2 separate regions of the Homo sapiens genome follow, and region 1 is linked to region 2. Evidence: promoter capture Hi-C in human tissues and cell types (Jung and others, 2019). All regions are on one chromosome and are shown on one strand. Each heading gives the region's core, a stretch centred on a gene start or on the middle of the fragment in contact. The rest is flanking DNA. Distances are from core to core; before and after follow the strand shown.

Region 1 (4,195 bases), core at 1,323-3,822, 700 kb before region 2:
TATGAAGATGAATACTTATTCACAGCTGGTGCTATACCTCCCATACAGCTTACTGAGAAATTGTTTTCTCTTTGTGTTTTCTAATGGACCTTATTGATTCTTTTCTGTCATATTGTATGAATCACCTACTGAACTTAGAAAGGTTAAGAGGCCTCACAACTGGTGGACTTAATTATGTTGGAGCAAATCCTCTCAGTCCAGACTTCTCAAATTCTTGGTTCATTTTCCATTTGACTCTCATTGTCCAGGGTTGCCCTGATCCCATAGTGCAAAGTGATAGTGACAGGAGCAGCCAAATGTCCAGGCAGACAGGGGCGGGTCCCCACTGAAACCCCACCTCCAAGCTAAAGACAGTTTAAAGCCTGAAAGCAAAGCTACAACTTAAATCCTCAGATCAAATTCAGAACTTGTCTTCCTGTTTGGTGTGCTTTCCTCTGGTTGATCCCTACCCTTCGCCTATTTTACATATACCTACCCTTTCCTAATTTTTTTTTTTTTTTTTTGGAGACAAAGTCTTGCTCTTGTCACCCAGGCTGGAGTGCAATGGCACAGTCTTGGCTCACTGCAACCTCTGCTTCCCTGGTTCAAGCAATTTTCTTGCCTCAGCCTCCTGAGTAGCTGGGATTACAGGCACCTGCCACCATGCCTGGCTAATTTTTGTATTTTTAGTAGAGATGGGGTTTCACCATGTTGGCCAGGCTGGTCTCAAACTCCTGACCTCAGGTGATCTGCCTGCCTTGGCCTCCCAAAGTGCTGGAATTACAGGCCTAATTGGTTTTTTTACACTGTAGTGTCCACCTTTGAGTGCTGTCTTCACTTTAACCTTTATTGCATACTCACAACCCAATCAGCACACACTTCCCATCCTGTGCCTATAAAGACTCCAGACTCAGTCAGTAGAGGGGGAGATGGCCAGACTTTGAGGAGACCACTGGACTTTGGAGAAGAGATGGCCAGACTGTGAAAGACACAGCCTGACTTTGGGGGAAGACGACTCACCCTTCCCATCCCCTCTCCAGCTCCCCTTTCTACTGAGAGCCATTTTCATCACTTAATACAAATCTTAGCCTTCACCATCCTTCAGTTGTCTGCATGACCTCATTCTACTTGGATGCCAGACAAGGGCTTGGCGCCCACCAAGAGTAGGTACCCAGAAAGGCTGTCACACCAGCCGTTTGCTCTCACTGACAGAGGGCAACTGCCCCACATGATTGAGGCAAGGGGTCAATTGAGCTGCTAACACACTGCCACCTGCAGATGGCAGAACTAAGAGAATACTGTAATGCTGTAAGCCCCTCTGGGGCTTCGGGGTCATGGGCACCCTAACCTGGGTGCTGCTGCAGGCCCCATATGGAGCTTGCTCCTGCTGGAGCCTGGAGCGCCCAACAAGATCCTGTAGTTGCTTGTTCATGCGCTCCCTCCTGCAAGGGGTTGAGCACAGTGGGCAAGCCAAATAATAGGGCACCCCTGTTGCAAGTCCAATGAAGGGGCCAAGAAAAATCTTGCACCAAAAGGATGATTCGGAAAAATCCTGATGTGCACATACATGTGATTTTAGGAGAGAAGCAGTGTAATTTACCAGGTTTTGAAGAAGACAGACCTGGAAGCTTCTGCTCTGTTACTGATGATCTAGACAATTATTGGCAAAGTACCTAATCTTCTCTGACCCTTCCTTTACTCATTTGTACTAGTGAGATTAGCAATACTTGTGTTGAAAAGTTGTAATAAAGATTAGAGATAACCAGAAAGTAGAGTATGGTAGGCACTCAGTGCTAGTTTTTATCCCTGTCAACTTAAAACATTTGGAGAATTGTCTTACAAAGAGGAAAATAAGTTTCAGTTGCTAAAATTCAGCACAGAGTCATAAGCTCATGTTTAAAGGAATGACTAATAGAGTCTTAAAAGCATATGTAACTTGGGTGTTGCTGAAAATCATCATTACTGTAAGAAATACGGTGACTCAAATATTTTATATGTACACATTATTGCTGGTTCAACTTAAAATAGGACTCTGTGAAACACAGTAAACTATAGCTATTCTGGTGCATGAGATGGCCTATAAAGAGGTAAACTAAAATAATTATTGGTTGTGATGCATCCTCTGAAGTCTACAGAGAGAGATGACAACGTGAAATTGCATGTGGATTACTTTGGACATGGATCAGCATTTGCCTCCCTGGAAAGGCAAATTTTAGTAGAAGCCTAAAGGAATGATACTGAGACAGTCATGGGAAGAGCTGGGCAAGATTTTAGGCCGAAGGAAAAGCAAGTTCAAAAGCCCTGATTGAGAAAGGACTTAGAGTAGGCTGTCTATGTGTAGTGTCAAGAAAAGGGAATTGCCATTCAGACAGTCTCCACTGTAGGAACACACACCCTAAGTAGGAGCCAATGAAGAAGCAACACACATGTACTTGAGTCTCCACACTGCACTATGTCATTCATGAGAGGCCATTTGACCTTTACTGGCTTATTTCTGATTTGTATGGTGTGATGCTTACATCAGGTGGTTCAAAATCTCTGCCTTCTTGGAAGCCCTCTTCAAAGCCAATATTCCTATTTGTCAATAAAGGTTGAGTGTTCAAATGGTTTAGAAATAGCATTCGAGGCTGGCACGTGGTGGCTCATGCCTGTAATGCCAGCACTTTGGGAGGCCCAGGCGGGCGGATCATGAGGTCAAGAGACTGAAACCATCCTGGCCAACATGGTGAAACCCCATCTCTACTAAAATTATAAAAATTAGCTGGGAGTAGTGGTGCGCATCTGTAGTCCCAGCTACTCGAGAGGCTGAGGCAGAAGAATCACTTGAACCCGGGAGGCAGAGGTTGCAGTGAGCCAAGATCACGCCACTGCATGCCATCCTGGTGACAGAGAGAGACTCCATCTCAAAACAAATGAAAAAAACAGAAATAGCATTCCATAGTGTGACTACTGTGAACCTCGTGGCTAGTCTCTGGGATGGACCACTATGGAGAACTTTTCCAATAAGGGATACTTGGGAGCATTTCATGACATATACTCTATTTGCTTTATTCAGAGTCACAGCAACCTTCAAACATTGTAAATGGACTCCACTATCTAATCAGGGAATTATAGCAATATATTAATTGCCATTTCTGATTATTTGCATTTAATTAAGGGGTACTCTTGAGAAATTGAAGGACAGCATAACCTCAAAATATGGCTTTACATCTGGGATAATTGACTATAATTTCTGTCTTTGCAGCTTTCCCTAAATTGTTTATTTCTCCAGATGGTTTCTAAAATCTATGATTTTACCTTTTTTTTTTAATGGGTGAGTAGGGTTTTCTGATAAATGCTTATATGGTTTAGTTTTTGCAGCTAAATTAAAGCTTAATTAGTCAAAAATCCAGATCTGTGATATGTTTATGAAGTTTATACAAGCATAATTAATTTCAGTTAATTGCACAAATAGCTTTCCGTGTAAACAATAACCTCTTCACTACTGACCTCTAAATGTCAGATTTCAGTTTATCTACATTTCTAGCCTTCCATGGTAACTCACGTATTTCTAAAAGTATTGTTCTTTCCTTTGATTTATGATTTTATTAAGGGAGTCAGTGATTACCCCTGCAACCCACGTTTCATGTTTTGAAAATGCAGTGAAAAAAGTATAACATTGCTTTTGTTTTGATGGAAGCAGAAAAATAATTTAAAATATGATTTTGGTATGCTCTCCTAAGTTTATTTCTTCTCATTAAGTTACCTAGGTTTTTTTAGTCTATTTGAATGACAGCTCAAATTTCATTGATCAGCTCAATGTCAAAAATAATAGCTATTATTTTTTTAAATATCCTGATTGTTTCCAGGATTTCTCTTCCTGAGAAGAATAACATTACTGTAAACTGAGCCAGATTCTCTTGCTGTATAAGCTGTTGCCTTTGCAGAGGTATTTACAAAGCCATGCCTAATTCTAAGAAATTATTCTCTGTAAGTATGCCTTCACTTTTGATTGGCAATGAAATTTTCTTATTAGTTCCCTTATTTCCCTAATAAATCTTACATATAGATTGAAATTGATTAATTTTGTCTTTTTCTGTCTACCTGGTTGAAGGGAAAGGGGATGTCATTGCTTCAGGAGCTCTTTCAGAAGACCCAGAAATGTCTTTCCCAGGAGCACACAGAAAAACTCACTACCTGTCACATTGGCCTGACGGGAGTCACATGCCCAGGTCTG
Region 2 (3,978 bases), core at 1,018-3,517:
ATATGTCTATTTTACTCTTTCCTTATCTCATAGAATGTTTTGAATTAAAGTGTTTATTTCAAAATAAAATACTTAGGCCAGATGTGGTGGCTAACGCCTATAATCCCAGCACTTTGGGAGACTGAGGTGGGAGAATCACTTGAGCCCAGGAGGTCGAGGTTGCAGTGAATCAAGATTGCCCAACTAGGCCAGGCGCGGTGACTCACGCCTATAATTCCAGCACTTTGGGAGGCCGAGGCAGGTGGATCACAAGGTCAGGAGTTCAAGATCAGCTTGGCCAAGATGGGGAAACCTTGTCTCTACTAAAAATACAAAAAAATTAGCTGGTAGTGGTGGCAGGTACCTGTAATCCCAGCTACTTGGGAGACTGAGGCAGAGAATTGCTTGAACCCAGGAGGCGGAGGCTGCAGTGAGCCGAGATCACGCCACTGAACTCTAGCCTGGGCGACAGAGTGAGACTCTGTCTCAAAAAAAAAAAGATTGCCCTACTGCACTCCAGAGTGAGACCTCATGAAGAGAGAGAGAGAGAGAGAGAGAGGAAAGAAAGAAAGAAAGAAAGAAAGAAAGAAAGAAAGAAAGAAAGAAAGAAAGAAAGAAAGAAAGAAAGAAAGAAAGAGAATTGAATGTGGCTGAAAAAAATCGGAAGGCACAAAAAAATACAATAAGGATTAACTCTCCCTCCACCTCCCACCCTCTGCCCCCATCCCACATTACCCACTGTCACTATTTCCTATATACATGTGTCTATGCATATACATCTAACCACACCCTTTTTGTTTAAACACAAAGGGCAGCCTGTGACACACTGTGCTGCATCTTGCCTTGTTCATTTAGCCATGAATGTTGTAATTCACAGCAGTTAAGCAATTTCTTTGGCCTAAAACTTTATTCTGGTCCTGCTCACTAGTTAACTCATAGCCATACAACGGTACCCAAAGAACATCTACATTAATCCACCACCACCATCCCCTCCCCTTCCCCTACCCCATTCTCTGGCTTCTAACCCCCCTCTACTCCCTTCTTCCCGCCCAGGGCACCTACTCACTTACCTGCCAGATGTAGGATGAGGCTTAAGATGACCACTTGAGGATGCATTATGGGATCAGCCTGAAGGAAAATGAGCAGACAGGCTGGTTGGTACCCTCCACCAGATGGTATCTGATCAAGTCTTAAATCTCAGATTGCAACTTATCTTTTCACCCAGTTGGTTGATTCATATGAGCCTGCTCTGCTGGAAATGAGAGAAGACCACATATAACGGCTTCAGAGCTCTGTTAGTTCCCTGCAGCTGAGAGCTCTGTGCCTTCCAAAGGACAGGGAAAGCTGTCCACAGAAACAGCCCCTGACTTCCCAGCTTCTTCCCCACACATAACCGCCAAACTGACTCCTGGTCCTGATACAGGGTATCAGGGGAACAAACAAAAAGGAAACAGGGCCGGGCGCGGTGGCTCAAACCTGTAATCCTAGCACTTTGGGAGGCCAAGGCGGGCAGATCACGAAGTCAGGAGATCGAGACCATCCTGGCTAAAAGGGTGAAACCCCGTCTCTACTAAAAATACAAAAAATTAGCCGGGCGTGGTCACTGGCGCCTGTAGTCCCAGCTACTCGGGAGGCTGAGGCAGGAGAATGGCGTGAACCCGCGGGAGGCGGAGCTTGCGGTGAGCCGAGATCGCGCCACTGCACTCCAGCCTGGGCGACAGAGCAAGACTCCGTCTCAAAAAACAAAACAAAAAAAAAGAAAAGAAAAGGAAACTGGAAGCAGAGAACCAGCGTGGCTCAATGGCAGCACGAGAGCAAATGCCAGCCTTCCAGTGGCAGAGATGCACTTGCTTTTCAGAGTAAACTGGGCCTCTGGTGGACGTGGAGCTTTTCCTACTCAGTGGCCACAACGACTTATCCCTAGCCTTAACAGTCATATTGCCAAGTTTGCCATTAGCAAGAGAAATTGAGAGTGAATGTGAATCACTGTGCCTAACCTTTCATGCTCCTGTACAACATGCTTCAGACTACACCTCCTTACCAAGGGACTTCAAGAGAATGCTTCAGGAAACAGAAGTCTGGAGCAGACTTACGTTCAGATCCAGGCTCTGTCACTCACAATGCTGGGTAACCCTGAGAGTTCCTGAGTTCTCTTCAAACCTCTATTTCCTCAGTTGTAAAATAGCACTAAAAATGCTTCCTCTATCTCCCACCAAGGATTGATATAATAAGCAAAAAGGGCCACGGAAGAACTTGGAAAACTAAACCTACATCATATGCAGTAATAGCACTAGCTGAGGTTTTTGGAGAATACTATATAGCAGGCTCTGTGTCAAGCACCCACATGCGTTAAATCGGGCTGTTGACTTCTGCTGTTAATCATTAAACCATACAAACATGAGTAAGCTTGCCTAGTACTTCATTAACTCCTCTTCTGGTCTAAGAATTCAGTAACTTCCAAGGAGGCAGTGGTGGTCTGTATCTTGCAGCTCATGACAGGGTTCATGGGGAAGTGGATGATCTCAGCATAGTGTTTTGTATGGCAGCGTTTAAAAATTCATTTCTTGACCGGGCATGGTGGCTCGTGCCTGTAACCCCAGCACTTTGGGAGGCCGAGTAGGCCAGTCACCTGAGGTCGGGAGTTCAAGACCAGCCTGGCTAACACGGTGAAACCCCGACTCTACTAAAAATACAAAAATTAGCTGGGGGTGGTGGCGGGCGCCTGTAATCCCAGCTACTTAGGAGGCTGAGGTAGAAGAATTGCTTGAACCTGGAAGGTGGAGGTTGCAGTGAGCCGAGATCAAGCCATTGCACTCTAGCCTGGACAACAAGAACAAAACTCCATCTCAAAAATAAAAATAAAAATTCATTTCTTGCCAGGCACAGTGGCTCACGCCTGTAATCCCAACACTTTGGGAGGCCAAGGCAAGTGGATCACCTGAGGTAAGGAGTTTGAGACCAACCTGGGCAACATAGCAAGACTCCCTCTCTGCAAAAAAAACGAACAAAAAATATAGTCAGGCCTTGTGTACCTGACCGTAGTCCCAGCTACTCAGGAGGCTGAGGCAGGAGGGTTGCTTGAGCCCAGCAGTTGGAGGCTATGATTGTGCCACTGCACACCAGCCGGGGTGACAGAGCAAGACCCTGTTTCTTAAGGAAAAAAAGATTGAAAAAAAAAAGCTAATTCAATTCAACCAGTTATTACTAACATATTGAGCTGATGGGACATGACTCAATATACTAGGGACGTCAAAAATCCAGACTTGTGCAATCGGGCAGGGACATGGGTAAGTAAGCAACTAATGAAATCAGGATAAGTGAGGTAAAGGTAAATATATAATCAGACTACATCATTCCCCCACTTATAACCCTCTCATAACTCTCTCAGAAAAATAATAATAATAATAATAATAATAATTCCTAAATCTTTACTCAAATTACTGAAGCCCTGGTGGTCTGGCCCTGACCTACCCCATAGATTTCTTCTACCACTCTCTCCCCTGCTGACTCAGCCCCAGCTACTAGAGCTTTCTTTCCAACTTGCCTCAACCCTAAGGCCTTTTCCGTGGCTGTGTTCTCCATCTAGCTCCCCAGCCCCACCATTTTCACTTTTTTCCTTTTCATTTTTATCCCGGCTTAAATATGACCTCCCTGGACATTTTTCACAGGTCCTTCAATCTAAAGTAGCCAACCAGTCCCTCTCACTATTATTATCTTGTTTTCCTTAATCCATTTTATCTGTGTGTGCAATATATGTGGTGTCTGTCTCTATTCCCTCCTATAGAGTGCTGCCCGGTAGAATTTTAGTAATGGAGTTATTCTGGTAACGGAGTTATTCTGGAACTGATGAGCCACAGAGAGCCAAGACAGGGATGTGGAGCCAGTGCTCTGAGATGTTACATAACTGTACAATTCCATAGGATTTGAATTTGAATTCCATAGGATCGATTCTGTCTCCAGTAGAATATTGGTTACAGAGTTATTCTGTGTGAGTGTCGT

Evidence for each region. The method cuts DNA at HindIII sites, captures the fragments that hold promoters and counts their contacts. A contact is called where the count stands out against the background at its distance.
Region 1: a fragment that was not itself captured here is called in contact with the fragment with the promoter of HAVCR1 in region 2 in 1 of the 25 tissues and cell types used here (mesenchymal stem cells).

Annotation. Positions count from the first base shown.
Region 1 is chr5:156,359,761-156,363,955 of GRCh38, forward strand. All of the region lies in intron 3 of SGCD (sarcoglycan delta), which reads left to right. All of the region lies in intron 1 of LOC124901120 (a long non-coding RNA gene), which reads right to left. Among named protein-coding and RNA genes, the nearest start is that of SGCD, 35 kb to the left of the region's middle. The HindIII fragment of the contact is 5,931 bases long and covers 1-4,195 here.
Region 2 is chr5:157,056,849-157,060,826 of GRCh38, forward strand. It overlaps HAVCR1 (hepatitis A virus cellular receptor 1), which reads right to left and starts at 2,268. Exons shown (of 9, transcript NM_001173393.3): 1 at 2,073-2,268; 2 at 1,050-1,107. The coding sequence starts at 1,095. The HindIII fragment of the contact is 13,602 bases long and covers 1-3,978 here.